Linked DNA regions of Homo sapiens: all the other regions are linked to region 5. Evidence: promoter capture Hi-C in 16 types of primary human blood cells and fetal thymus (Javierre and others, 2016). All regions are on one chromosome and are shown on one strand. The core of a region is centred on a gene start or on the middle of the fragment in contact, and the rest is flanking DNA. Distances in the headings are between cores, read along the strand shown. Region 1 overlaps USP33 (ubiquitin specific peptidase 33). Region 2 overlaps ZZZ3 (zinc finger ZZ-type containing 3). Region 3 overlaps ZZZ3 (zinc finger ZZ-type containing 3). Region 4 has its middle 6.0 kb from the start of ZZZ3. Region 5 holds the start of MSH4 (mutS homolog 4). Region 6 overlaps ZZZ3 (zinc finger ZZ-type containing 3). Region 7 overlaps USP33 (ubiquitin specific peptidase 33).

Region 1 (3,989 bases), core at 148-2,647, 1.9 Mb before region 5:
TAAAATTTTACATATGTATATACTCACACAATTGAGTATCTTACTCTTAAATTGTAAATTTTTTTTTCTTTTTTTTTGAGACAAGGTCTTGCTCCATCAACCAGGCTGGAGTGCAGTGGCACGATCTTGGCTTACTGCAGCGTCGACCTCCTAGGCTCCAGTGGTCCTCTCACTTCAGCCTGCCTAGTAGCTGGGATCACAGGCGTGCATCACCATGTCTGGCTAATTTTGGGGTGTTTTTTGTAGAGATGGGGTTTTGCCATGTTGCCTGGGCTGATCTTGAACTCCTGGGCTGATCTTGAACTCCTGGGCTCAAGCCATGTGGCTGCTTTGGCCTCCCAAAGTCCAAAGTATTGGGATTACAGGCATGCATCACTGGGCCTGGCCTTAACATCGTAAACTTTAAAATTTTAAGATGGAGTCTCGCTCTGTCGCCCAGTCGGGAGTGCAGTGGTGCAATCTCAGCTCACTGCAACCTCTGCCTCCCAGTTTCAAGCGATTTTGTGCCTCACCCTCCCAAGTACCTGGGATTACAGGCACACATCACCATGCCTGGCTAATGTTTATATTTTTAATAGAGACGGGGTTTCACCACATTGGCCAGGTTGGTCTCGCAACTCCTGACCTTTATTTTAAAACATTTTCCACCACAGTTTTCCTACTAATTATGTTTTCTTTAATTAAATATTAAAAATAATTCATACATTGAATGCTTCTTACTTGAGAGGCCAGGGGAGGCCTTCATCTGATGAAAACTTGACTATGACTGTGATGTGTAACTAAGATTTATATGTTGTATGATACTTTTTGAAACCACTTCTTTTAGTTTGTTGTTGGCTCTAACATTTTGGAGCAGAAATAAGGGAAAGTTGAAATATAGATAAAGCAGGTTAAGCAATAAACTGATAAAGTCACTGACCTTAATAAACATAATAACAAGTCCTTATATGATTTTTGATTTTTATATTACTTTGAGAATTTTATTAAGAGGATTTATTTTTACTGGGTATTTGGCCACTGACTTAAATGTTAGAAACAAACTTCCTAGAACATTAATTCTTAAATTTTTCATGCTTTAGGTATGGTGGAGGACCAGCTGTCAACCATCTGTACATTTGTCATACTTGCCAAATTGAGGCGGAGAAAATTGAAAAAAGAAGAAAAACTGAATTGGAAATTTTTATTCGGGTAAAAAAGTGATGCTTTTCAAATTGATCTAGGATAAAGATGAAGACCTGACAATTATCAGAGTTATATGATATTAATAAAATGATTAGATGAAAGAGTTGTAATAGATTTCAAGTGTTCTAGGTGCATAATGGTGAATGACCTCAGGCAGTTCACTACAGTTCTGTTGAGTTATGTTCTCCCTTTGTGTGTGTGTGTGTGTGTGTGTGTGTGTGTGTATGAGACAAAATCTTGCTCTGTCGCCCAGGCTGGAGTGCAGTGGTGCAATCTCGGCTCACAGCAACCTCTGCCTCCTAGGTTCAAGCAATTCTCCTGCCTCAGCTTCCCAAGTAGCTGGAACTACAGGCATGCCCCACCACGCTAGGCTAATTTTTGTATTTTTAGTAGAGACAGGGTTTTGCCATGTTGGCCATGCTGGTCTCGAACTCCTGACCTCATGTGATTTGCTGTCTTGGCCCCACAAAGTACTGGGATTATAGGCATGAGCCACTGCTCCTGGCCCCTTTGTGGGTTTTTGCTTTTATGGATTGACAATACTTTTTTTTTTTTTAATGTATTGGCACTGGCAGAAATCTTATTGAAATGGAAAATTACAGGTTTCCTTAAGTTAGTGTTGTCTGTAGTCTATCCAGACTGCATGTACTACTTTGATTCTTTTGTGAGATATAATATTCTTTTGTTTTTTTGAGGGACTCCTGGGCTTATAAATATACTCACTTTTCACAAACTGAGCATATTATGAGGTGTCCCTTAATTGTAAGCAACAGAAAGTGTGGTCATAAAATCAAAAGCATGAACAACCAGGTTTTATGGGCAAGGACTAGTACCCTTCCAATTATTGACGTAGCAAGAAGTCTCTGCAGTACTGTTGTCAGTAACATAACTCCAACTATTTAAGACAATTGAAAATTTGGATCACTTGAGAGACACGTTTATTCATAAATCTACTGAGACACTATTATGGGGAGGAGTAATACTGCAAGAAAAAAATTGGGATTCTTTTAGTAAAAGCAGTGGAGAAGATATTGAGCAGATCAAAATAAGATGTCCAGTATGTTTTGTATTATTCATTTCCTGCACATGTGTAGACACACACACACACCTGCTTTTCCTCATTGATTCAGGGCTTTTTTTGTGCCCTTGCCTAAAGTAAAGTAAATTTTACATAAAAAAGATGCAGGTATAGATTTATTTATTTTACATGGGCTTCATTTGCTTCTTGAATCTAAGGAAGCAAACTTTAGTTGAATATTAAAAATAGTTTTTTCCATCAATGCTTAAATAATGGCTAATGACTGTGTCTGTCAGGATTTGATTAATAGTAGCTATTCTAAGTATTTTGAATAGAATCAGAATGTAGGGAATGAGAGATGTACATTACTATTGAAAGGACTGGGCAGTGAAGGTCAAGAAGACCACTGCTGACTTTCAGGAAATCTAAAAGTGGAATAGGGTACCACATTGTGGGTGGGAGAGAAGCAGTGGCCAAGAATGGTGTTTATAACCACAGAGGGTAAAGAGAATTTCTGTATAGTGAGTGGCATGAGCCCAGTCAAGGGTGTTAGAGCCCAGGCAGGATAAGAAGGGATGCCCATGTTGGCCTGACATTGGTGGCTACAAGGGTACAGCATAGTGGTGGTAGTGGCAGTGAGCGATTGGTTCCATATGGGAAAATGATCAAGACATACGTGTAATGAGTACCAAGTTTCTCATTGTCAGATGAGGAAGTTTCAAATATGGAAAAGGAGAAAACTAAACTGTACCTTGTGTTGTTATTGGATTGGAGTTATGGGTATCTTTGTGAACTCATGATAATAGCTGAGTAAATATGGACGTGTGTGTGTGTGTGTGTGTGTGTGTGTGTATGTGTATGCATGTATAGAAACTTGATATTTCTTAACTCTCACTGAAAGTGCCTTGGATCAATGATTACTCCAGTAGGATTGATCATACCTAGCTCTCAGATATATATATGTCTATATGTTTATATAGATATCTATATCTATATATAGATTGATTACTCCAATCTATTGATTACTCCAGTAGGATTGATCATACCTAGCTGTCAGAGACATATATATATATAGATCTATCTAGATAGATCTATATGTAGCTTTATATAGAGAGAGAATATGTTCTATATTTACAGAATGTTAAAATTAAACATGTATATAAAATATAGATATATAGATATGTATCTATATATATCTATATATTTCTAAATTTTATTTTAAAAGACAGGGTCTCATTCTGTCACCAGGCTGGAATGCAGTGGCTGGTCATAGTTCACTGTAACCTTGAACTCCTAGGCTAAAGGGATCCTCCTGCCTCAGCATCCCGAGTAGCTAGGACTACAGATGCACACCACCATGTGTAGCTAATTTAAAAAATAAATTTTTTTGTAGAGACAGTGTCTTGCTGTCTTGCTCAGGCTGGTCTCTAATTCCTGGCCTCAAGTGATTTTCCTGCCTCTGCCTCCCAAAGCTCTGGGATTACAAGCATAAACTACTGTGCCTAGCCTCAAAATAAATTACAGTAACATATAACCTCATTAAATAAAATAGGAGATACTGCATCCATATTGGTATAAATAAATAAATGAATAAATGGAAAGGATGAGGATTGGAATGCTTATATCATTTCTACTTAACTCCCTCATTAAACACTTATTAATTACAAACGGAAAAGACTAACTTTCAGCAGAGAATCCTGACACCATCTCGATGAAGATAAAATGAGCATCATTAGAAATGAAACAAATCAATTAGTTGGGTGTGCTGGTGTGTAAGTTCCAGATATTC
Region 2 (4,252 bases), core at 138-2,637, 1.8 Mb before region 5:
TGTGTCCTTGCCTTTTTATGTGTGTCTGTTCTATTAAAGATTTTCAGTAGAGGATAGTACTCAACTTTCTTGGTTAAAAACTCATAATTTTGAGTAGATGCTACAATTAATTTAAAATGACATGTGCTGTGTCTTTGCAGTTACTATGAAATGATAGCCTACATATAGTTTAACATACATGTAGTTTGGGCTATATTTGAGGTATGTTGTTTGTTACAGTATTAGTTTTTAACTAGAAGTTACTAACTTGCCTCTGTTATATGAAACTTTTATGTATTTGTAATACTAGAATAAGAGGTAAACATTTTAGATTTTACAGTGGATTGTTTCATAGAATAGGTAATCTAAAATTCTGGAGTAGGGAAATATCAAGGGAATCTTGATCTGACTGGTTGTCAGGGGTTTTTTTCTAGATGATTGTGAAATTTTTATTCTGTTAGCTATAATATAGTTGCATTTAGCTTTCTATTTTAAGAGAGAAAACTCAAGAATTCTGTGGCATATATTTAGAAAAGCAGAACCTAGGGATAAATTGAAAAGGTCATCTTTTAAGGTCTGTTCCCATAAGAATCTTTGAGTCTTCAGGGGAAAAAGACCATTTTTTGAAGGTTATAATAATGTGATTAAAAAACACTGACAGATTGTTTTAAAATTTCCTATACAAGTTACTTAAATTCAGTGACTAGTAAATAACTTCTTTAAGCTATTTAAAACTAACAAGGACAATAAAGTTAAGGTAATCAGAACTTGTTTGCAGCTTGTTGCAGGAATCAGAAATTCACTCAGAGTATCTCAAACAACAAAGGGGTTTATTTTAAATAAATGATAGCAAACAATCTTGCGAATACTCATGATCAGAAAACAAATTCGAGGCAGACCTCATGAAATTATAACCTGTCAGTATTCAAGATTATATATACTCTCTCACCACTGCTTGTCTTTGTACAGTACAGGCTAGTTTTTCTTATTTTATTAATGTTTTTTGCACACTTTCTTCCTTTCCCCTGAAATTTCATTTTGCAGATGGCATTGGCTTCCTACTGTGCTTGTCATGATCCCAACTTTATATGACATTTTATTCCCAGAGCCTCGTCACAGTCTCTAAAGAGAACCTGGTTCTTGACTATCCAATAGATTGGCTTCCTTGGTCAGTCCATCCCTGGCCGAATTATCAATTGTCAGGGGTGGGATTATTGGACAAAAAAAAAAAAAAAAAAAAAAAAAAAAGGCTGCATTGGTCTACTCTTCTAGAGCAAGGGTATATCTTCCAGCAAAAAGGTATGTGGGCAGGTTGGTAGGCTGCCAAAACATGCCCATTATAGACCATTTAGCTTTTTGGGTAAAATTGTACTCTTGGTCAATTGTTTATAAAATAAGATATGGAAACACTAATACATTGCTGGTTGCAGGGTAAAATGGTGCACCCACTGTGGATAACAGTTTGGTGGTTCCTCAATAAGTTAAACATAGAATTACCATATGATTCAGCAATTCCACATTTATTTATTTATTTTTTGAGATGGAGTTTTGCTCTGTCACCTAGGCTGGAGTGCAGTGGTGCAATCTTGTTTCACTGCAACCTCCGCCTTCTGGGTTCAAGTGATTCTCTTGCCTCAGCCTCCCAAGTAGCTGAGACTACAGGTGCTTGTCACCACGCCTGGCTAATTTTTTTTTTTTTTTTTTTCAGTAGAGGCAGGGTTTCACGTGTTGGCTTGGCTGGTCTCCAATGCCTGACCTCAAATGATTCACCCACCTGGGCCTCCCAAAGTGCTGGGATTACAGGCATGAGCCACCACGTCTGGCTCAGCAATTCCACTTTTAGATGTATACTCCAAATAATGAAAGATAGGTGTTTAAACATGAACTTGTACACAGATGTTCACAGCAGCACAATTCACAATAGCCAAAAGGTAGAAACAGTTCAAGTGTCCATCAGCTGATGAATGGATACACAAAACAAGGTATATCAATACAATGGAATTGTATTCAACTGTAAAAAGGAATGAAGCTGCAATATGAATGAATCTTGAAACCATTGTACCAATGAAAGAAACCAGACACAATAGGTCATATATGTTTCTATTTATATGAAATAATCCAGAAGAGGCAAATTTATAGAGACTGAAAGCAGATGAATGGTTACCCAGGGGGTCGGGGAAGGGTAGAATGAGGACTGACTGCATAATGTGTATAGGATTTCCTTTTGGGGTGATGAAAATGTTTTGGAACTGGATAATGGTGATGGTTGCACAACATTGTGAATGTACTAAGTGCCACTGGATTATATACTTTAAAATGGTTAAAAAGGTAAATTTTATGTGATTTTTACCACAGACAGATGAAACTAAAGCGTGGGGGGATTAGTGCATACCAGGGTATGCACAAGATCATCCACTGGGAGATAGAAGAAAATACTACTTAGAGGTTTTTTGCTCATTTTAAGAATGTCTGGGTTTTTTGAAATACATTATAACATATATTTGTAATGCATTTAAGTATAGTAGAACATATAGTTTATAAGTAAGTGTACATATATTGGGAACATGCCTGACAATTTTTATTTTTATTTTTATTTTATTTATTTATTTATTTTAGAGACGAAGTCTCACTCTGTTTCCCAGGCTGGAGTGCAGTGGCGCGATCTTGGCTCACTGCAACCTCCGCCTCCTGGGTTCCAGCGATTCTCCTGCTTCAGTCTCCCTCCTGGGCTGGGACTACAGGTGGGTGCCACCACCCCCGGCTAATTTTTGTATTTGTTTTAGTAGAGATGGGGTTTCACCATATTGGCCAGACTGGTCTTGAACTCCTGACCTCGTGATCCACCCACCTCGACCTCCCAAAGTACTGGGATTACAGGCGTGAGCCTCCGCGCCCGGCTGACAATTTTAATTTTTTACCAGTAGAGATGCATAGAGCAAAAAGTGTGAAAATTGTTGTTTTTAATAAGGAAAAGCCACCTATTGCTCAATAATTTTTTACTTCAGCATTTAGGGGAAGTTTTTAAACACAGTGCCAGATTCTCTTGAAGTATATAGGTTACAGAATCCTAGTAACACATTTAGAGAAACTACAGGGTTCAATGGACATTTACTTAACAGTCTTGAAAATAACTTGGGTTGCTTTTAAGCAAATGGTGTCATCTTTTAAAACTGCACTGACATTTTAAATGTGGCAGGTGTTCCTAAGAAGAGCACCAGAGTGTTCTTGGGCATTAGAAACTTGTTAATGTTCTTTATACTCAGAAACTATGAAGCCAATAACACTAATGATAATAAGTATGAACATTTGGCGTTTAAAGAAAAATCAACGATTGAGGGGGGAAAGAGTCATGATTTCCTCAAGAGCAGGGGTAAGAAGCGTGTCTGACTAATTAATGAGAATTCTTTAAGAGACAAATTATTAGATAAAAATAACTCAGTGTATAATGTGTATAAACATTATACACAGTGTGTTCCATGTCATTGTGGTTATTTCCTTTTAAAATTGTGATTAAAAAGAAAAACTAGTTAATTTTGTGTGTGTGTGTGTGGTGGGGGGGCCCTTTGACACACAGGAATTATGTAGTGGTTACATTAGGTAGCATATGCCTGTAAGGTAGCACTACTGAATTACCAAGTTTTATCTAAAAAATAAAACCAAATAGAATGTTTTCCTCTTTATAAGAATCAGTACCTCACTTTACTGGACTCAATCCTTGTTGTTCAAAATATATTTGGAACTCAACTTTTGGAACAGTTTGCAGAATATCCTCAGTGGTGGCAGTTCCTTTTAAAGGATATTTAATTTTTACTAGAATTTTTAATTATGCAGAAATATGTAACATGGAGAAATATATTTTTTGTCAAAAATAAAATTATAAGTAGTGAAACTTATGTCCTTTCATGTCTCACTAACCTGAACTAAATGTGACTCATAAATTTGGCTCTAAAGAATTCTAGCAGAACAACTCCATAGGCATTTTGCATACGCACCATATAGCATGTAACACTTAGTGGACTGTTAATTTAACCATCTTTTTTCCTAGATTGTGAGATTGTTGAAGCTAGATGCCAAGTTTGTTTCTATGATGTACTTTCTCCATGTTGATTTTAACCGTTGTCATACTTGTTTAAAGATTCAGAATATTGTGTGGATATTTTTTCCCCTCTGTGTGTCTTTTTCTAAACATATTGGTAAAAAGCATTCTGGGAATTCATACTGTTATTGATAACCTTCTTTGATTATATTTTGTAATTCTGCATCTGTTGAAATT
Region 3 (3,703 bases), core at 779-3,278, 1.9 Mb before region 5:
TCCATGAAGGATGGGATTATGTTTTTTCTGCTGCAGTTCTTAGAGCCTGGAATGATGCCTAGTTCATGGGAGATGGTCAGTGAATACTTGCTGAATTTATTTATTTATTTATTGAGCGAGATTTCAACACATGAATGGGGACACACACGTTTAGTCCATATAAGTATTTATATTATTATTATTCTTTGAGATGGAGTCTGGCTCTGTGTCGCCCAGGCTGGAGTGCAGTGGCACGATCTTGGCTCACTGCAACCTCTACCTCCTGGGTTTAAGCGATCTTCCCACCTCTGCTTCCCAAGTAGCTGGAATTACAAGCGTGCACCACCACACCTGGCTAATTTTTGTATTATTAGTAGAGGCAGGGTTTCACTGTGTTGGTGAACAGGCTAGTCTTAAAACTCCTGACCTCAAGTGATCTGTCTGCCTTGGCCTCCCAAAGTGCTGGGATTACAGGCATAAGCCAACGTGCCAGAATGCATGAATTTATACTGTAAAGTGTTGGAACAAGGTTGTGAGCCCTAGGAACATTGCAGTGTGAATATTAGCTATTACCACTGCTACTGCTGCTTAACTTAATTACATTCCGTATATACGTTTGATATACTGTTTTAGTTTTAAGCACTATTCCTTGTGGAGTAAATTTCAACAAGTAGGATTTTCCCAAATACTTTATTTATTTTTGAGATGGAGTCTCGCTGTCTCTCCCAGGCTGGAGTGTACTGGCGCAATCTCGGCTCACGGCACCCTCCGCCTTCTGGGTTCAAGCGATTCTCCTGCCTCAGCCTCTTGAGTAGCGGAGATTACAGGCGTGTGCCACCACGCCTGGCTGATTTTTTTATCTTAGTGGAGACTGGGTTTTGCCATGTTGGCCAGGCTGGTCTTGAACTCTGACGTCAGGTGATCCGCCCGCCTCGGCCTCCCAAAGTGCTGGGATTACAGGTATGAGCCACCACACCTGGCTTCCCAAATACTTTAAAACTTTAAAATTTTATATTTTCTCTAGCTTTATTGAGTTATAATTGGTAAATATAAAAATTTTAAATTTAATGAATGAGACAGTGAATCACAAATTTTCTTAAACATTCCAGTATTCTTATTAACCAAGCTAAATATTCATACACTTTTAAACTTAAAATCATAAGCGTGAAGTCAGTTACTATTTTAAATTTAGAAACTATCATTGTCTATAGGAACTTAAAAATATTTAGGATAGTTTTAAACCACACAGTATTAGTATCATGAGTTTGATATACGTAATTTCAATATTCTAATTAATCATGGACGTTGGGCAGTCACTTACCTTCGGGAACAGTTTTGCTGTCTTCAGCAAGTTGAGATTCCTGTGACATACTTTATGTCCACAGTTCAGTTACCATCTCTTGACAGGCTGTTTATCAGCTTGACATTGGCCTTGGAAGCTGTCTTTGTCTAGGTGGTTTTTCTCATGTCACAGATGGACATAATGAACTGTCAGTAAAAATTGTCTGTATGGTAACAGTGGAACTCTAAGTTGATGTTGGTTTCTTCTGAATTGAAGTTTAAGACCTTTTGTAATTGTTTTGTAATTGCTTTTTAACTCTATTGCCAGATCAAGTTTTGTAAACCTCACCCAGATTATTTCACCACTTGATTGGATTCCAGGAATCCATTTTCTGTCTGGCTGATAGCACAGGTTTTAGATCATTTAAAGACATTAAGGAACTGAGAGGTATTGATAGCTTTTGTTAATTTGTTGTAACAAAAAGTATGCCAGAAGACTAGAAACAGCATAAGGTCTTATTTTTAAAAAGGAAACCAGTAGTTTTGGAGATTGTTTTCCTAGGTATGCCTTGGAGAAGAGGCAGAGAAGTACAGGCTTAGCTCATCAGCATTAAGAACATTTCATTAATAGTGTAAAATAAACTTTCTTAAATACTGTTAGAAGGAATTAATGTCAGACTTTGAGAGAAGTATCTAAAAAGGTACTTTTTGTTGTCCATTTTTAATATTTTCATTAATGTTTTGAATAAATGTACAGTTGTGCTTATAAAATGTCAGAACAATTTAGCTGGCAAGGATAACTAAAACAACTTGTAAGTTCTGTCTGAAACTACAGGCAGAAACCTATAGTGTGAGCTGCTTAAAAGTGTGGAATTAAAAAAATATGGAATTCAGATAGAAAAAATTACATGAGTAAAATTTTGTTCAATTAATGTTAAGGCACTGTATGTACTAAGAGAATAAAAAATGTATTGCTCTATTCCTTCGAGGAGCCTATAATTGAATGGGGAATATAGATATATCAAACTATACATTGTAATTTTATGATAGGATTATTAAGCATTATGGGAGCAAAGGAGAGAGTAGTTAATTCTGATGGATCATTGAATTGGCCTTTGAGGAATAAGAGTTTTCTAGGAATTGAAGAGGGGAGAAAGTCATCTCCTTTCTTTCCCTCCCCATTCTTCTTTAAGGTACTGAAAAATCAGATTCAGGACAGTGTTTATTAAGACAGATATATTTGTGGGCAAATAAAGAGTAAATTGGAATGAGAGATTAATTAGGCTACTACAGTTGTTTAAATAGAATGATGATGGCCTGAGCTGGAGCAATAACAATAGAACAGAAAGAGTAGATAGTTTGTTTTTTTTTTTTTCCAAGACATTTTGGTGATAGAATAAGTAGGGTTTATTAGCCGGGTGCCATGGCTCACACCTGTAATCCCAACATTTTGGGAGGCTGAGGCGGGCGGATCACCTGAGGTCAGGAATTCGAGACCAGCCTGACCAATATGATGAAACCCCGTCTCTACTAAAAATGCAAAAATTAGCCAGGCGTGGTGGCACGCACCTGTAATCCCAGCTACTCAGGAGGCTAAGGCAGGAGAATCGCTTGAACCCGGGAGGTGGAGGGTTGCGGTGAGCCAAGATCGCGCCATTGCACTCCAGCCTGGGCAACAAAAGCGAAACTCCGTCTCAAAAAAAAAAAAATAGGGTTTACTGATTGTATATTATTAGGAGTTTAGTTTTATATAGTCTCAGACATCCAACTGGTGAGTTGCTTAAAAAAGAAAAAACAAATGAAGTACCAGGCTGCAGTAATAGGATTTTGTCCATAATAAGGGATATGATATTCATTCCATGTTGGTTAGGACACATTTACAATGTTGGCCTTATTTCTGAAAGCTACACTTTAAGAAAAGTAAATGAAAAGATAGATATGTCAAGAGGAGGGTAACCCATGAGAACCTTTGAAGGAATTGAGAGTGCTTATTGTGGAGAAGGAAGACTTGACAGGAATGAGTGAAGGAGGGAAGGGGACAGTTGTTTTCAGGTAATGCAGGGCTGTAATGAGTTGTTCTACAGGGTAGAATTAGATCCAGGATACCACCAGACTTTTTTTTTCTGAGAACTAAGATATTCTCTTAACTGCAGTTACAGTGATCAAAATTAGGAAACTTAACATTAATACCATTATCTAATTTACAGTCCACAATCAAATTTTTTCAATTATCCTAATAATTATTTTTATAGCTTTTTAAAATCGAAGATCATACATTGCATTTGATTTCATGTCTCTCCAGTCTCCTTTAATCTGGAACAGTTAGTCAAATTTTTTTTTTTATTAATTTTTTTTTTGAGACCGGGTCTCACTGTGTTACCCAGCCTGGAGTGCAGTAGCGTGATCATGGTTCACTGCAACTTCCACCTGCCAGCCCCAGGCA
Region 4 (3,948 bases), core at 76-2,575, 1.9 Mb before region 5:
ACAATATTGGAACAGTTTAGGAAATTTGAATATAGAATATGTATTAGATATTAGGTAATATATCAATGTTAAGTTTCTTGAGTATGATAACCAGTAACATAGGAGAACAACCTTGTTAGGAAATTTACGCAGAAATGCTGGTTTTTAGGGTTGAAGTCATGCTAATTTGAAACACACACATACACACACACACACATACACACACACACAGACTATAAGAGTTTCCTACCTAGGATATGCTGTTTACCTCTTCCAAGCCCACAGAATTGCTTTCAGCCTAGACTGAGAGATGTTGTAATAAGGAGTCCTATAAAATTAACTGTTGGATTTACTAGAAAGATGCTGTTAAGGATACTCTTCACATGATGTTGTCGTTGTGAGAAACTGAGAGAAATTCATCTTTAGTCTTAGTCCTGGAGTAGTAATGCCTCCTGTGGGCAAAATATTTGTTACCCTAGGCATACTGAACCTGTTATAACTGATTTTGTTTTTCCTTGTTACAACATCTGCTACAAAGCTTAAAGCAAGTGTTCAGGACCTTAGAGCATGGTTTTTGTTTTTGTTTTTTTAAATTATTTATTTTGAGACAGTTGTGCAGTGTTGCCTAGGCTGGAGTGCAGTGGCATGGTCATGGCTCACTGCAGCCTCAACCTCCCATGCTCAAGCAATCCTTCCACCTCAGGCTCAGCTGGGACCACAGGCATGCACCACCACACCTGGCTAATTTATTTTTATTTTTTGTAGAGATGGGGTCTCACTATGTTGCCCAGGTTGACCTTGAACTCCTGTGCTCAAGCAATCCTTCTAGCTTGTCCTCCCAAAGTGCTGGGACTACAGAGGTGTGAGCCAGTGCATCCAACCAAGCATGTATTTTTGTGCATCATTTTTGTTTCTATTTTCTTTTTGCCCTAAATTTCCCATTTTAATTATTTTGAATTGTATTTTACCTATTATACTGATTTTTTTGGGTAAGCTACATGTCTTTTTAGAAAGAAGCAAGGTATAGTTATTAAAAATATGGCCTTTTTGGTGATGTACAGCAATGTCTTCCCCACCAGACAGTAGGCACCAAAAGGTTTTGTCTTGTTCACCCCCTTGTGTTTAACATAATGTATGAGACAAAATAGGTTCCTGGTAAATTTGTCTAATAAGTTCACATTTAGGACTCCATTTTCAAATTTCTTCCTCACTGGTTTTTGGTTACCACTGTTCAGTTTTCCTTTACAGTTCTGGTCCCTCATTTCTCCTTTGTAGTTTTTACTTTCTTCCTTGACCTCAACAATGTCAGTGCTTCTCAGGGTTTTGTTCTTGATTTTGTTTTTCTCACTCTGCTCTCCCTGGGTAACCAAATCTAAACCTCAGGTTCCAGTTAACTATTTCTAAGCTAAAGACTCACAAACCTGTACTTCCAGCTCAGACCTGAAGCCAGCATCCTCGACATGTATCTAACTGACTCTTGGGTTCTTCATTTAGATGTACTGGGGTTGCCTGAAACTCAGTATACTCTAATGAAACACATCATTACCCCATCTAAACTTGCTCCTACTTTAGTATTTTCTGTGGTCATCAATAACACCTCCATCTCCGTGGTCACCCAAGCCTAGACTCTCCTTTCACTTCCCACTAATTCAACCACCCAAATCTTAAGAGATTCAGCCCCCAAAAGATCTGGACATATACTGCGTTTGGACATGAGGGCACTTATTAAACCAATCATAATGCCATGATAGTGCCCCCAAACAGAAAAGTGGTTAAATAAATTATGCAATCATTTATCAGGGTTTATTTTTATTTTTTAGAGATGGGGTCCCACTGTGTTGGCTCAGGCTGGGCTGCAGTGGCATGATCATAGCTCACTGCAGCCTCAAACTCCTTGGCTCAGGTAATCCTTCTGCCTTAGCCTCCAGAGTAGCTGGGAGTACAGGTGTGTACCACCAAGCCTGGCTAATTTTAAAATATTTTTTATAGAGATGGGATGTTGCTATGTTGCCCAAGCTAGGCCTGAACTCCTGACTTCAAGTGATTCTCCCACATTGGCCTCCCAAAGTGCTGGGATTACAGGTGTAAGCCACCATGCTTGGCCCAGTTCTTGGGGTTTTTGAAGAATATTTAATGACATAGAAAAAAGCTTATGATCCAATGAAAGAAATTAGGATATATGACTTCATCTTAGATTTTATATACGTGGGAAAAAAAACAGTGGTTTCTTTCAGGCAATAGTAAGTAGTAGTAGTAAATAAATAATAACTTCCATCCCATGTAGGGGGCTTTGCATCAACTGTTCTCTTTCTCTGGAGTGTTTTTCCCACCTTTGCCCAACTCCTAAATGCATTCACACTTTAGAAGTGGTGAATGCATACTTCATCTCAGATTGGATGTTGCTTCCTCAGAAGTACTTTAGAACATGTATGTACTTTTGGGTATATGGACATATTCTCATAGTGACCTGCGCTTTTTTTTTGTATATTCTCCAATTTAAAACTTTTAATTAAAAAGTAAACTTTAAGGCCGGGCGCGGTGGCTCACGCCTGTAATCTCAGCACTTTGGGAGGCCGAGGTGGGCGGATCACAAGGTCAGGAGATCGAGACCATCCTGACTAACACGGCGAAACCCCGCCTCTGCTAAAAATACAAAAAATTAGCCGGGCGTAGTGGCGGGTGGCTGTAGTCCCAGCTACTCGGGAGGCTGAGGCAGGAGAATGGCGTGAACCTGGGGGGCGGAGCTTGCAGTGACCCGAGATCGCGCCACTGCATTCCAGCCTGGGCGACAGAGCGATCCGTCTCAAAAAAAAAAGTAAACTTTAATGTCGAAAATGCAAACTTGGGGAGGGCAGAAAGAGCACGCACAAGGCTGTCACTTCACACTTGGAGGGTTGCACAGCGGCCAGCAGAGGCGCTCCTCACTTCCCAGATGGAAGGAGGGGTGGGGGGCGGGGCGGCCGGGCAGAGGCCCTCCTCACTTCCCCGACTTGCTCCTCACATTCCAGACGGTGTGGTGGCCGGGCAGAGGCCCTCCTCACTTCGCAGACGGGGTGGGGGCCGGGCAGATGTGCTCCTCACTTCCTAGACGGGGTGGGGGCCGGTCAGAGGCGCTCCTCACTTCCCAGATGGGGTGGGGGCCGAGCAGAGGCGCTCCTCACTTCCTAGACGGGGTGGGGGCCAGGCAGAAGCGCTCCTCACTTCCCAGACAATGGGGGGACTGGGCAGAGGCGCTCCTCACTTCCTAGAGGGGGTGGGGGCCAGGCAGAAGCGCTCCTCACTTCCCAGACGGTGCAGGCCGGGCAGATGGGCTCCTGACATCCCAGATGTCAGTGGCCGGGCAGTGGCGCTCCGAACTTCCCAGACAGTTGGGTGGCCAGGCAGAGGCGCTCCTCACTTTCCAGACGGGGCGGGAGCTGGGCAGAGGCGCTCCTCACTTGCCAGACAGTGGAGCAGCCAGGCAGAGGTGCTTCTCACTTCCCAGACGGTGGGGTGGCGGGGGGCGTGGGGGGGGGGTGGAGGGGGGAGGGCAGGGCAGAGGCGCTCCTCACTTCCCAGACGGTGGAGCAGCGGGGCAGAGGTGCTCTCACTTCCCAGATGGTGGAGCAGCGGGGCAGAGGTGCTCCTCACTTCCCAGACGGGATGGGGGCGGGGCAGAAGTGCTCCTCACTTCCCAGAAGGTGAGGCGGCGGGGCAGGGGTGCTCCTCACTTCCCAGACGGTGCGGGCCGGGCAGATGGGCTCCTGACATCCCAGATGGTGCAGTGGCCGGGCAGTGGCGCTCCTCACTTCCCAGACAGTTGGGCGGCCAGGCAGGAGGGCTCATCACTTTACAGACAGGGCGGCAGCTGGGCAGAGGCGCTTCTCACTTCCCAGACGGGTGACCTGCACTTTTCATGAATGGTACTAACCAGTTTGAATTTATGTGATTATATTTTAAATGTCAGCCTCCCTCCCTAGACTGTGAGCT
Region 5 (4,272 bases), core at 708-3,207:
CACCTGTAATCCCAGCATTTTGGGAGGCTGAGGTAGGAGGATCGCTTGAGCCTAGAAGTTCGAGACCAGGCTGGGCAACGTAGGAAAACACTGTCTCTACAAAAAAATTTTTTAAATTAGCCATCTGTAGGGGCACATGCCTTGGTCCCAGCTACTCGGGAGGCTGAGGTGGGAGGATCGCTTGAGCCCAGGAATTTGAGGCTGCAGTGAGTCATGACCATGCCACTGCACTCCAGCCTGGGCAACAGAGCAAGACTCTGTCTCAAAAAAAAAAAAAAAGTGCAGAGAGGAATTTAATTAATCATATAGTCAGCCTGAGGTATCCATTAGTCCATCAATAAAAACTTCAGAAGACAGTCTGAAGTAAGTCTGGAGTGTAGATGAGATCTGAGCTGTGGAGATAGTCACATCTAGGTAGAAGTGGCCTAGGAAAAAAAGCTTTAATGACATGCCCATAATTTGGGAACAAAGGTGGGCACAGCAATTCTCTGGGAGGTAGCAGAAAAACAGGGGCAAGTGGAATCAAGGAAGCCAAATTAAAAGAGTTTAAGAGAAGACCAGTCAAGAACATTAAACATAGGCCAGGCAGCAGTGGCTCATGCCTGTAATCCCAATGCTTGGGCAGACCGAGGCAGGAGCACTTGAGACCAGGAGTTTGAGACCAGCATGGGCAGCATAGCGAGACTCTGTTTCTAAAAATAAAGAAATTAAGAACATTAAATACAGCAGAAAGGTCACATGAGATGAACTGAAAAATGACCATTGGATTTGGTATTTGTTACTTTACCATTGTGTTGCAATCGTGTGTGAAAAATGGTGATGCTTTGTCATGAATAGAGACTAACAAAATAATAAATGATTTGAAGGACATGCATCTTTTTTGTTTGTTTGTTTTGAGTCAGGGTCTCACTGTGTCACCCAGGCTGAAATGCAGTGGCGCAATCTCAGCTCACGGCAGCCTCGACCTCCCGGACTCGCCATCCTCCCACCTCAACCTCCTGAGTAGCTGGGACCACAGTCACGTGCCACCACACCCAGATAATTTTTGTACTTTTAGTAGAGATAGGGGATGGGGGTGGGAGGTTCACCATGTTGGCCAGGCTGGTGTGGAACTCCCGGCCTCAAGTGATCCGCCCACCCTGGTTTCCCAAAGTGCTGGGATTACAGGCGTCAGCCACCGCCCAGCCCACTCTTTTAATACTAAACATATTATTTTCCCTGAATTAGATGAAATGTTCAATTTAATCTATTTTATCCCACCTTAGCAGGATTTGGAGAATTAAATTCAGCAGCCAAAGATCAGCTCACAACTTCTATCAGCAAACTCACGCACAAACTGTCATTTGTCAGACACTGTGAGGGACGTTATATGGGATACTTCAGCCTTTCTCAGAACTGAGCCATCCACAGTCAAGGTCTTGCAATAGAACCAATTTGAAAAGTCAAGGCTTCTAATCACCCAGACTCACCAAATTCCCAGGGCACTCAGATCTCACGCCCCAACCAAATCACAACTTCACTGTGGTAACCACCACCCACGTGCCCCCGAGCCTCCATGAACTGCCGGCCTCTAGCCTCAAGGAGACTCCTCCACCCAATCACTCCTTGCCTTGAGCTGGCCGGGAGTTTGGCGCGGGGCAGGGAAGGCTGCTGCTGCTGCTGCTCCGGTCGCCCGCAGCTCCTGACGTGCCAGGACAGGTGGATGCAGAGACCACCTGGACCGAAGGGCGGCTCTGTGGAGTCTCCTGGAGTCCGAAATTGTAGCGGGGACCCTGAGGTGAGCGGGTTTCTCCCGACGACGGGGAAACCGCCGGGGCAGAAGGCGAGGTTGATGAGATCTCAGGCCTCAGCATCCTCCCAAACCTTCCCTGACCCGAGAAGTATGAGGTTTCTGAGCGACCCCTCCAGTAGCCCAACTACAGAAGCTGCGCCGCTGAAACGGGCGGGAGAACTGCGCGCCGACGCACTAAGCTGCACTGCGCAGGCGCAGGCAGGCTCAGCTTTCCACATGGATTCACGTACTTCAGGTCTATGACCCTGCTTCCAGCCATTCCCAAACCCATCACTTTCCACATGAACCTCACTGGAACATCCTCAGCCTGCAGGTATCAGACTGACCAGAACTCTGCAAGGCCCATCAATGACCACCCGATTTGTTAGCCCCATTATTCTCACAGCACCCAATCTCCCTTATTGCAAATGTTACATGCATTTCCCACACGTCCAAGCACACTAGCTTATCTTTAAATGTAGAAACCACCCAACACAGTACACCCAGTGCCTTTGACACAATGAGAACGTGTAATGCTCACACAGCATAACCCACCTAAGGTTGATCTTGTGACCAAATATAGGAAAGATAGTTATATTATCAAAAGATAGTATGCACATGGCTGTGTGCATAGTAGAGTAGGAAACAGGGAAAGACTGACTGGGTAAGATCTCTCAGTTAACAATTCCCCATCTACCAATTTCTAGTACTGTGGTTTCTAACATATAAATCAGTTAATGGCACACTAGAAGTTCAAACTCCAGCTTTGCAGTGGTGACCTTTAGAAAATTCCTTAAATAAGGCCAATAGTACCAACTTACCAGAGATCCATGGATTAAACATGACGAAATTATCTGGATACTGCCATACAGAAGCTATTAGAAGACATTAATTTACACCACTACTGAAATCCTGCCACTGTTGAGTATCTCAATAAACCAGTTATGCACAGCGGTTTACCCACATGCAGTGACAACAGTCCTTAAGAACATCTCTGTTCTTGGAATGATTATTGCACAGGGCATTCCAAACATACTTGAGAAAAATCTCAATTTCCATCAAAAAACCTTATTTTCAGATCGGGCACGATGGCTCCTCCCTGTAATCCCAGTACTTTGGGAGACTGAGGCCAGAGGATTACTTCACCTCCGGAGACCAGCCTGGGGAAGACAGTGCCTGTCCCCAAAATTAAGAAATCAGCTGGGCATAGTGGGCATGGTGGCAGGTACCTGTAGACCCTGGTACTCAGGAGGCTGAGGTGGAAGGACTGCTTGAGCCCAGGAGTTTAAGGTTACAGTGAGCTGTGATTGCACTACTATGCCCCAGCCTGGGGAAGAAAGGAAGACCCTGTCTCTAAAAAATAAAATTTAAAAATAGAGAATACCTCACTTTCACCAAAACTGTAAACCCCTAGAGTGATTGTACTCATTTTAGGCCAGGCGTGGTGGCTCACGCCTGTAATCCCAGCACTTTGGGAGGCCGAGGTGGGTGGATCACAAGGTCAGGCTGGTCTCCAGCTCCTCAGCATGGTGAAACCCTGTCTGTACTAAAGTAACATAAAAATTAGCCGGGCATGGTGGTGTGCGGCTGTAGTCCCAGCTACTCGAGAGGCTGCGGCTGAATTGCTTAAACCCGGCAGACGGAGGTTGCAGTTAAGCTGAGATCGTGCTGCTGCGCTCCAGCCTGGGCAACAGAGATTCTGTCACAAAAAAATAAAAAAGAGTGATTGTACCCATTTTAGCTTTTTAAGAAAAAGACAGGTGCAAAAAAATACTGTGGTGACCATCAACTTACCCGTTAGTGTTTCCTTATTTGAAGACAACTCCTTCTTTGGGTAATTCTGATATATAAAATGCTAAAAAAAAAAAAAAAAAAAAAAAAAAAAAGGACAGTCCGAATCACAACCCCATTTTAAGATGGTAGATTGCCATTTAACCTAAGTCTGTGACCAATTCAGAATAACCATATTCAAACCTATCAATCATTTCCAAATTTCAACAGCCATTTATTTTGTGCATCATTTAATTCATGTATGGGTTCTATCCACTTTCATCAGTTAACATTCTTGTTGACAAACCAATTTACATCAACTTGCTATAGAACAGATGAAAGGTATACATGGGGGAAAAATCAAGTAGAAACCTAGAGTTATTTTATGTTAGCTCAGTTATTGAACATAACAGACACAGAAGTATACACAAAGAACTGTAGTCAGAATAACAGGACTTCAGAATAAAAAGCAGAAAATAAAATACCGGTCTTTATTTTACAATATGTATAATTATATAATTTATTAAAATTAATTTAACACAATATACAAAATATTAACAGTAGTCACTTTTAGATTCGATAAGCACTTCAAATACAGAAATGTTAAAATGGCAAAACTATACTATGCAACTTTCAATTCAATGAATCTAGCTCACTAGCTCAGGCTGAACATTCACTCTCTGAAGCACTTCTTCAGGCATGCAAAAGACAGGATTAACAGGTTTAATCTG
Region 6 (4,001 bases), core at 396-2,895, 1.8 Mb before region 5:
ACACACAAAAAAGTACTTTTTCTATTAATGGAGAGTAATTGTAGACTTAAGGAAAATGACATATGTCTATATTGGTGGTAAGAAAAGGAACCTGAGGAGCTCTTCAATTTGTAAGGGTTTAAGTATGGAATTAAATTTAGAATGTTTGTATGTGGGTACTCCCTGAGAAGAACTTGGAAGTGTTAGCCAATCATCTTAGTTTGTTGAAGACACATATTTCACAGCTAAATGTAAGGAATTACTTGTGAAGTTTAGTAGAAAATGAAGTGTGCTATATAAGTGTTTGGAAATATTACCAATTTTATTCACAAATTTGTAAACGGTAACACATCTATAGTGACTATATTATGGTTTCTCTTCACAGATATCAAGTTATTCTAGTACAACCATATAAATAAATAATACCTGAAGTCTCAGTGTAACATGGACAATTAACAGTGATGACAGATAAATACAGACGCATGGGGATCAAATACTAGGCAAAACGCTTTTTAAAAGGTAAGAAATAATGTAATCTTAATTAAGGCCATGTGGGGTTTAGTTAGAAGTAATTGATTGAAGTTTCTTTTTCAGTGTATCAGGCTTTTAAGAAACACTGCAGGATCCTGTCTATCTTAATGCTGATAGAGCTCAGCTGTAAGTATCAGTTCTGTGAAAATAACAGTTGCAGATGTTCTTGCCTGCTAAATATCGTAGTGGATAATCTTCCTATAGTGAACTCTATTCAAATAGAGTAGTTATGTGGTTGATTAGAACTTGATAGAGTGCTACTAGGGCACATTCCAGTATGCTCAGAGATATACTTTAAGTTGTAGATGTTCTTTGCTTTTGATGATTGCTACTACCATCACACACTGTAAAACGTAATGTTTTGCCATGTTTGTGAAAGGCTTCAGTGTTTGGTACAAAGGAGTTGTCACTTGGAGTCTGTTATAAGAAGAGTGGGTTTTCAAGTCAAGGGTTACTTTATGTAGGATCATGTTTTCGCTGAGCTTCTCCCCATGTTAACTTAGAACATTTCTTAATGTACTGTAGTATTAAATGGTTATTAGACAATTTTCCTACCTTGTGCTTTTTAAAGCATTTCCAGGGCATGTTTGGGAGAGGTGGCATCTATAGATATTAGATATTACTATCCCTATTCTCTTTCTAGCTGACTAGAGCAGTAACCTATTTTTATTATGCAGTAAGTCTGCCTAGTAATTACAAGATTTTGTAATTATATCAGTCTTTAAGTTGTAATGCTTTCCCCAAAATGTATCACTATTATAATATCTAGTTTTATGCTTATAATAAAGCGACAGTTTCTGTCATAAACATCTGCTGGTCGTTTTCTTAGTCCTCTTCCTTGTTTTCAGATGGGCACTCATAGTAACCCATTTAGCAGATTGTACATTCTCTCTTTTTTTTTTTTTTTTTGAGACTGAGTTTTGCTCTTGTTGCCCAGGCTGGAGTGCAATGGGGTGATCTTGGCTCACTGCAACCTCTGCCTCCCAGGTTCAAGCGATTCTCCTGCCTCAGCCTCCTGAGTAGCTAGGATTACAGGCGCACACCACCATGCCCAGCTAATTTTTTGTATTTTTAGTAGAGATGGGGTTTCACCATGTTGGCCAGGCTGGTCTCGAACTCCTGACCTTGTGATCCACCTGTCTTGGCCTCCCAAAGTGCTGGGATTACAGGTGCGAGCCACTGCACCTGGCCTGTACATTCTTTGAAAAGGATATCATAATAAATTATTATATAGTAAAAATTAACCAGACTGTTCTAAGAAATGGAATGTAATTAGATTAATTAAATTGTCTGGCTAATTGGGTACTAAAACCGGAAAATCCTTGTTGTTCTTGTTCTTGTTAAAAATACATATGCCAAAAATAATAGAAATGTCCTTTTGTAATTGAATTTTGTAGCACTTGAATAAGCATCAAGGTTTTCCTATAGGTATAGAAGATTTGGTTGATTATTTGTGTGATTCTTTTATGCATAACCTAAATGGTTATGTATACTTGATGTCGAGAATTTGGGAAGTCCTCTAGGACAAGAGTACGAGATGATATTATAAATTCTGTTATGAGAAATGCTATCAAGGGCAACCTTTATCACCGCAAAAAAAAAAAAAAATACTCCCTTAGAGCAATGTCTAGAAAAGAGCAAGTCACATTTTGACTCAGTTCAAACTAATATTGAGTTGTAAGGATTTGGTATATTTTAGTATCTTTTTGGTTTGCTTTTGTTGATTTCTAAAAATCCTATTTCAGTTTCTTAGTATTCTTGAGGCTACAGAGTTACCGAGAAGCATGAAAGATGTCACTATGAACAGTTTCTGTACCTGTATTTCTTCTTATTATAGAAGGAGTAAATCTATTAGCATAAGTTCATCATCTTCTTTAATCCTTTTTTTTCATTATTTTATTTTAAAGAAAAATTTAGGAGGTTCTAGTATTCTTCATGGCTGAAGCTGAGAGAGTCTGAAACCCTGATGCTTAAGCTCCATTCTAGATCATAGCTCCAACTCCTTCAGGATATAAGGAAAAGAGATTATATTTCCACAATGATAGATCTTTGGTTGTACAGGTAAGTTATTTAGTTTTGCAGTAGTGAAGACAGCTATAGTTTGACTTCTTCTTCTTTTTTTTTTTTGAGATGGGGAGACTTGTTATTTTTCCATACATCCTCTGGGTGGCAACTTGTAGTTTGGCTGGCTGTTTATAGGAGTATGGAGCTGCAGGGAATGGGTTAGGAATGAAATATTTCCCTCCCTTTTTTTTTCAATGGGGTATAAATGAAGTGACTGATTATGTTGGAATTTTTTACTCAGGAGGCATTGTGAAATTCCTTGACTTCCTTTTCCTGATCGTCTTTTAAAGTGTGTGTTCATTTACTTTTGTCTATCTGTCTGTCTGTCTGTCTGACTGTCCGCTTATCTGCCTGCCTACCTACCTACCTACCTACCTACCGACCATCTGTCATATATCAGTTTCTCTTAATGGGAAAGAAATAAGAAGTCTCTTTATGTAAAACAATGCATAATAGAGTTCCCAGACTTCAAAGAGGTGACTATTTAAGAACCTTAAGTTGAATTGCATGGGTGGGTTACCAGCCAGGTTTTACTCTTCTACTTTTAACATTATAGATATGGTGGTAATTGCACTGCTGAGGTATTGTCTTAAAATAATTATATGACAAACATGGCCTCAACGTTATTAAATAGTTTATGTTTAGACAACTAGAAAAAGAATCATATTGGTTACACTTTCCAGTTGCATTTGCTCTTTTTTCCTTTTACTTTGGTTTGTCTATGTGAATATATTCTGGTATCATGACCAGTTTACTAAAAATTTTTCACTTAATAAAACTAAATATTATGATAATAAATATCAGCTAAACCATTGGTGTGATGGAAGATTGCCAGCTGCTCAATTCCCAAAATAAACTGTACCACTTTGGTGATTATAGTAGGAACAAAAGCTTATAGGCAAGGTCTTTGAAATATCTTTTTGAAATTTCTTTCTCTTAAGTAAATAGCTGGAGAAGTGTGTCATTAGGTGGGCCTTTTTTGTTTAATAATTATTATCTGTTTTAGTTCTTATGCGTACAGTTCTACAGGTATGATCATAGGAGCTGGAAATTTATGACCTGAAATGTAGCTGATAATGCTTCAAAGAGTGTTTTTCAGAATCCTATAGTTATATTTGGGTAACAGTAGATTCAAATTTATGAGAGGGCAATTCAGCAGCAAATATGTGGGTAGGATATGTGAAATTATAGGTAGGATTGAGGGCTTAATATGAATGGACAAGTTGAAATTCGGTTGACTAGTCCTTCTCAGATATGGCCTCCAAGAGGATGAGAATTTATGAAGGTGGGGAAGAGAGGGAGGGAGTCTGGTTAATTCTAGTTACTGACCACACTCTTTTTTCTCTGAATTCTAGAAAGTGCAACCATTCATTATTTGGTAGATAACATATAGGAAAAACTCCAGTGTAGTTGTTAGTTAGATTGCG
Region 7 (4,156 bases), core at 54-2,553, 1.9 Mb before region 5:
GACTCCATCTAAAAAAAAAAAAGAAAAAAAGATTTTTCTCCTTTTGGATCAAGAGACTTAGAAAACACATGGGTTTGCTTGCAGAATTTATCACTTAATTTTCAGAATTCTTAAAGTCATAGAAAAATAGGAAAAAGGAAATTAACTTAGAATAGTTGGCTTCTTAATCAGATCATCAGTTGATCAGAATTTGATCAGATTTGATTAACAGCAAGTTTTTTTCCTCATGTGTGTTATAGAAATCACATATTTCTGTACTTGTTCATTGATACCAACTGTCAGGTTTTTCTGTTGTATGTTTGTATCACATTCTTATGGTAGATATTTGTGATAATAAATTTGCTTGCCTTACACATGAAAGATGGCTAGATTTTAGTCAAAGAATAATTTCTTGCATTTTCAGTTTCTCAGTTGAATGGCTCTAGTTAATTATAACCATTACTGTTTCTCCCACTTATACCTATTTATCATTCACAAACATGTTTAGTCTTTTTCAAAAGTCCAGATAGTATGAAAATGGCCGTTTCGTTGAATCCTCTTACATTATTAACAAAAGTTTGTCCCACTGAAGATAGCTGAATGGTAATAAGTAGAAAAAGTTTTAAAAAAGAAAAAAGTGTAATGTTATGACTAAAGTTTAATCACACAAGGAACTAATAATATATAAAGGCAAAACTATCAGCATCACTTACTAGAGAAGTAAGTTAAATAAGCTATCTGTTGCCATTTCTGCCAGAAAAGATCAAGATTACAAACTTTAATAAATGTTGAATCTGATAGAATAAGTATACTGATACTTTCCTGATGGCTTGTTAATAATTTTCTGATGACTTGTAAATATGTTAACACATAAAAGGCATAAACTTAATTTCATTCAACTTCCTTATGATCCCATTGTTGAAGAAATTATTCAGAAGAAAACAGTGGTTCAGATAGATTTCTTTAGTGGTCCAAAACTTATATGCTGTTGAAATCCAGTTTACCACAGGATATTTGCAAAATAGTAAAATATTGGAGGCCATGCAAATATTAATAAGATTTTTCAAATAGACATTTTTTCTAGATAGTAAAATTTCAGGTGATTTAAGCCTCTGTACTTCTGTGTATTTAGATATTTTGTAGTGAGCATGTATCTTTTTAAAAGCAATTACTTTATGAAAACAAAATGAAAGTATGAAGTCCACTCAAATGTCCAGTCTCTACAGATGTCAGGAAAGTAAAATCGTTGGGAATTAGTGCATATGCCTGCATTTTAGAGGTAAAGTAAGGCTATAATAACTTGGAGAACCAGAGTACATGCTAAATTCTTTCTGCTATTCAGTTTCCTTCTCTGTTTGGGTGTTGCTGAATGTTGGTTCATTGTAGTTCAATCTTCTGATATTACAAGAGAACTTTCAAATTTTGATTTTTATTTGTCGTCTCCGAATTTTTTAAACTTTAGCTCAAAGTTTTTTTCGTTTTTTTTTTTAAAGTGTTTACTAGCATTTGGCTAACAGGTTATCAGTTGCAACCTCTGAGTCAAGCCAATTGTTGGAAATTAATATTAGAATATTATTATTTAAAGTAAGTGCTTGAACTATTTAATATACGTAAAAGTGTGCAGGCCGGGTGTGGTGTCTCACACCTGTAATCCCAGCATTTTGGGAGGCCGAGGTGGGCGGATCATGAGGTCAAGAGATCAAGACCATTCAGGCCAACATGGTGAAACCCCTTCTCTACTAAAAATACAAAAATTAGCTGGGCGTTGTGGCATGCACCTATAGTCCCAGCTGCTTGGGAGTCTGAGGCAGGAGAAGCGTTTGAACCCAGGAGGTGGAGGTTGCAGTGAGCTGAGATCGTGCCACTGCACTCCAGCCTGGCAACAGAGTGAGACTCTGTTTCGGAAAAAAAAAAGTGTGCAAAGTAAATACAGTAATAAGTATCAGGAGAGATTGTAGAAGTCTATAGATAATGTGTTATGATGAAAAACTTTTGCCTTTTTCCCTGTTGAAAATGAGATCTGAGAAGACAGTGTAGGATAGTATCCTTCGGAGATCTTTTTAGCTATGGTTTACTGTCACATAATTGCAGTTATTGTGGAGTTTTAATTCAGAAAATTCGGTTGTAAAAAGTGCCTTTTTAACTCAAATATATATGTTAATAAAGCGGGACTGACATGCTATTACCCTAGGGTTTTATTTCCTTCAAAATATAAATGTAAGTTTAATTGCTAATACCACAAATTCTTATGGTTCCACTATTAAAATAACATCTCAATAATTTTTATGGTATAGATGTTATATAAGTTACAATTAAAACTTTTTTTAAATTTAAGGATTTGTTCAAGTGTGCTATCTTTTTTTGTTATCAAGGATTTTAAAATACCCAGTAATACAACATTAAAAACTCCTCTGGTTGCCGTATTTGATGATCTGGATATAGAAGCGGATGAAGAAGATGAACTTAGGGCCAGAGGTAAATTAATCCTGTGTAACGCTTCTTTGTATGGCACTGCCCATTTCTTTAGAAAACCATATAATGTAAAAGTTTCAAAATGTGGAGGTAAAATGGGCTTGATAATTAAAACAAAAGGACTCTGAAATTTGGCCTAGTAAAATTTTATTTGCAAAACAAACTTTTGGTTTCTCTGGTGTCAGTTTACCAAAGGTAGGATCCTACTTACTCTTTTGCAGTTGAGCCTTATGATCTTTTTGTTTAACTTGCCTTTTGAGGTCTGTTTGAACAGTGTTTCTCATTTTTCTATTGTCAGTGATGGGGAGGTATTAGGTATAAAGGTATTCCCTTAGCAGAAGTTCCGGGGAAAACATTTGGAAAAAGAATCAGGTGATACACTTCTCCCTTCTTCCCCTAAATTGAGAACCGGTCTATTTGGATTTTTCATATTCTTTTAGGCCCACTGTTCTTAGTATAAGCTTAAAATTTTCTGTTTTATAATTGATACTAGTGGTACATTGAATGTATATTTAGATAATTATCTGGAAATTAACACTTTGGTTTAAGCTTAACATGACTAGAGATAAGTTATAAATATTTTATGTATTTCCCAGTTTTAACCCATTAATTTAGCTCACACTATTAATTTTACTGGATACTTATCAATAAGTGGTAATTCAGTCTTGTTTTAGAGATTTTTAGAATTTTAAATTTTCTTCATTTTGCTCCAAATCCAAATAGCATTTATAATTTTTTGTAGTATTTATTTCATCTTTTAATAATGAAAGTAAACTGATGAAAGTGAACTTGACTATATATGGAAGAGATAACAGTCATTCAATGGCTCGTTTTAATATTAGCTTGAACCATATGAAATTGCCATTTTTGTAGATTGTCAGCAGTTTCCTATGGTTCAACCTAATAAATACTACTTTCTTTTTTTCTTTTTTTTTTGAGATGGAGTCTCGCTCTGTTGCCCAGGCTGGAGTGCAGTGGTGCAATCTCGGCTCACTGCAAGCTCCGCCTCCTGGGTTCACACCATTCTCCTGCTTCAGCCTCCCGAGTAGCTGGGACTACAGGCACCCGCCACCATGCCCGGCAAATTTTTTGTATTTTTAGTAGAGATGGGGTTTCGCCATGTTAGCCAGGATGGTCTCGATCTCCTGACCTCGTGATCCACCCACCTCAGCCTCCCAAAGTGCTGGGATTACAGGCGTGAGCCACTGCGCCCGGCATAAATACTACTTTCAGTGCAATACGTTGAAATGGAAAGGAAAAGGGTGTTTGCTTATCATTTATCATGACGAGTTTTTTTGCATTGTCATTAATTTTCTCAAAATAATTAAACTTTAGTTATAATAAGAAATGTAAAAGTCTCAATTAATGCTTTTTAAAAACACGTAGTCTTAAATGTTAATAGGAAAGACTGTTCTTCCTGTGCAAATTTCAAAGTTTGAACTGTTTAATCCTTGAATTTATGTAAAACTCAAAATTTTGGTGATTGTAAGGCTTCCCAAAGTGTGACCTCTCTGAATTGTTCAAGTTGCTATATTGTATTTCCGTGGTCCTTAATGTAATTTGGGAACCATATTAATGACCCCTAAAATTGAGTCATTTTGCATTATTGAATGATGACTTCATGTATATTTTTTCTTAATAGGTCTTACAGGTTTGAAAAATATTGGAAATACTTGTTACATGAATGCAGCTTTGCAGGCTCTTT

Evidence for each region. The method cuts DNA at HindIII sites, captures the fragments that hold promoters and counts their contacts. A CHiCAGO score of 5 or more calls a contact.
Region 1: a contact is called between a fragment that was not itself captured here and the fragment with the promoter of MSH4 in region 5, in 3 of 17 cell types (naive CD4 T cells, non-activated CD4 T cells and total CD4 T cells). The highest score is 5.4, in naive CD4 T cells.
Region 2: a fragment that was not itself captured here is called in contact with the fragment with the promoter of MSH4 in region 5 in 3 of 17 cell types (non-activated CD4 T cells, naive CD8 T cells and naive CD4 T cells); the score reaches 8.0 in non-activated CD4 T cells.
Region 3: a fragment that was not itself captured here is called in contact with the fragment with the promoter of MSH4 in region 5 in 5 of 17 cell types (non-activated CD4 T cells, naive CD8 T cells, activated CD4 T cells and 2 more); the score reaches 11.4 in non-activated CD4 T cells.
Region 4: a contact is called between a fragment that was not itself captured here and the fragment with the promoter of MSH4 in region 5, in 4 of 17 cell types (non-activated CD4 T cells, naive CD8 T cells, monocytes and 1 more). The highest score is 8.2, in non-activated CD4 T cells.
Region 6: a fragment that was not itself captured here is called in contact with the fragment with the promoter of MSH4 in region 5 in 4 of 17 cell types (non-activated CD4 T cells, naive CD8 T cells, monocytes and 1 more); the score reaches 10.1 in non-activated CD4 T cells.
Region 7: a contact is called between a fragment that was not itself captured here and the fragment with the promoter of MSH4 in region 5, in 5 of 17 cell types (non-activated CD4 T cells, monocytes, naive CD8 T cells and 2 more). The highest score is 9.1, in non-activated CD4 T cells.

Annotation. Positions count from the first base shown.
Region 1 is chr1:77,708,946-77,712,934 of GRCh38, reverse strand. USP33 (ubiquitin specific peptidase 33) reads left to right here. Exons shown (of 24, transcript NM_201624.3): 21 at 1,080-1,188. Among named protein-coding and RNA genes, the nearest start is that of ZZZ3, 28 kb to the right of the region's middle. The HindIII fragment of the contact is 8,441 bases long and covers 1-3,989 here.
Region 2 is chr1:77,615,209-77,619,460 of GRCh38, reverse strand. The region is part of intron 5 of ZZZ3 (zinc finger ZZ-type containing 3); the gene reads left to right. Among named protein-coding and RNA genes, the nearest start is that of ZZZ3, 65 kb to the left of the region's middle. The HindIII fragment of the contact is 5,876 bases long and covers 1-4,252 here.
Region 3 is chr1:77,663,019-77,666,721 of GRCh38, reverse strand. The region is part of intron 1 of ZZZ3 (zinc finger ZZ-type containing 3); the gene reads left to right. Among named protein-coding and RNA genes, the nearest start is that of ZZZ3, 18 kb to the left of the region's middle. The HindIII fragment of the contact is 7,724 bases long and covers 1-3,703 here.
Region 4 is chr1:77,686,712-77,690,659 of GRCh38, reverse strand. No RefSeq gene overlaps it. Among named protein-coding and RNA genes, the nearest start is that of ZZZ3, 6.0 kb to the right of the region's middle. The HindIII fragment of the contact is 1,611 bases long and covers 520-2,130 here.
Region 5 is chr1:75,794,567-75,798,838 of GRCh38, reverse strand. It overlaps MSH4 (mutS homolog 4), which reads right to left and starts at 1,957. Exons shown (of 20, transcript NM_002440.4): 1 at 1,610-1,957. The coding sequence starts at 1,853. It overlaps RABGGTB (Rab geranylgeranyltransferase subunit beta), which reads right to left. Exons shown (of 9, transcript NM_004582.4): 9 at 3,753-4,272. The coding sequence ends at 4,189. The HindIII fragment of the contact is 6,934 bases long and covers 441-4,272 here.
Region 6 is chr1:77,638,019-77,642,019 of GRCh38, reverse strand. It overlaps ZZZ3 (zinc finger ZZ-type containing 3), which reads left to right. Exons shown (of 15, transcript NM_015534.6): 2 at 365-498; 3 at 574-636; 4 at 2,418-2,571. Among named protein-coding and RNA genes, the nearest start is that of ZZZ3, 43 kb to the left of the region's middle. The HindIII fragment of the contact is 3,645 bases long and covers 1-3,467 here.
Region 7 is chr1:77,734,354-77,738,509 of GRCh38, reverse strand. USP33 (ubiquitin specific peptidase 33) reads left to right here. Exons shown (of 24, transcript NM_201624.3): 6 at 2,352-2,454; 7 at 4,094-4,156. Among named protein-coding and RNA genes, the nearest start is that of USP33, 23 kb to the left of the region's middle. The HindIII fragment of the contact is 3,222 bases long and covers 1-2,914 here.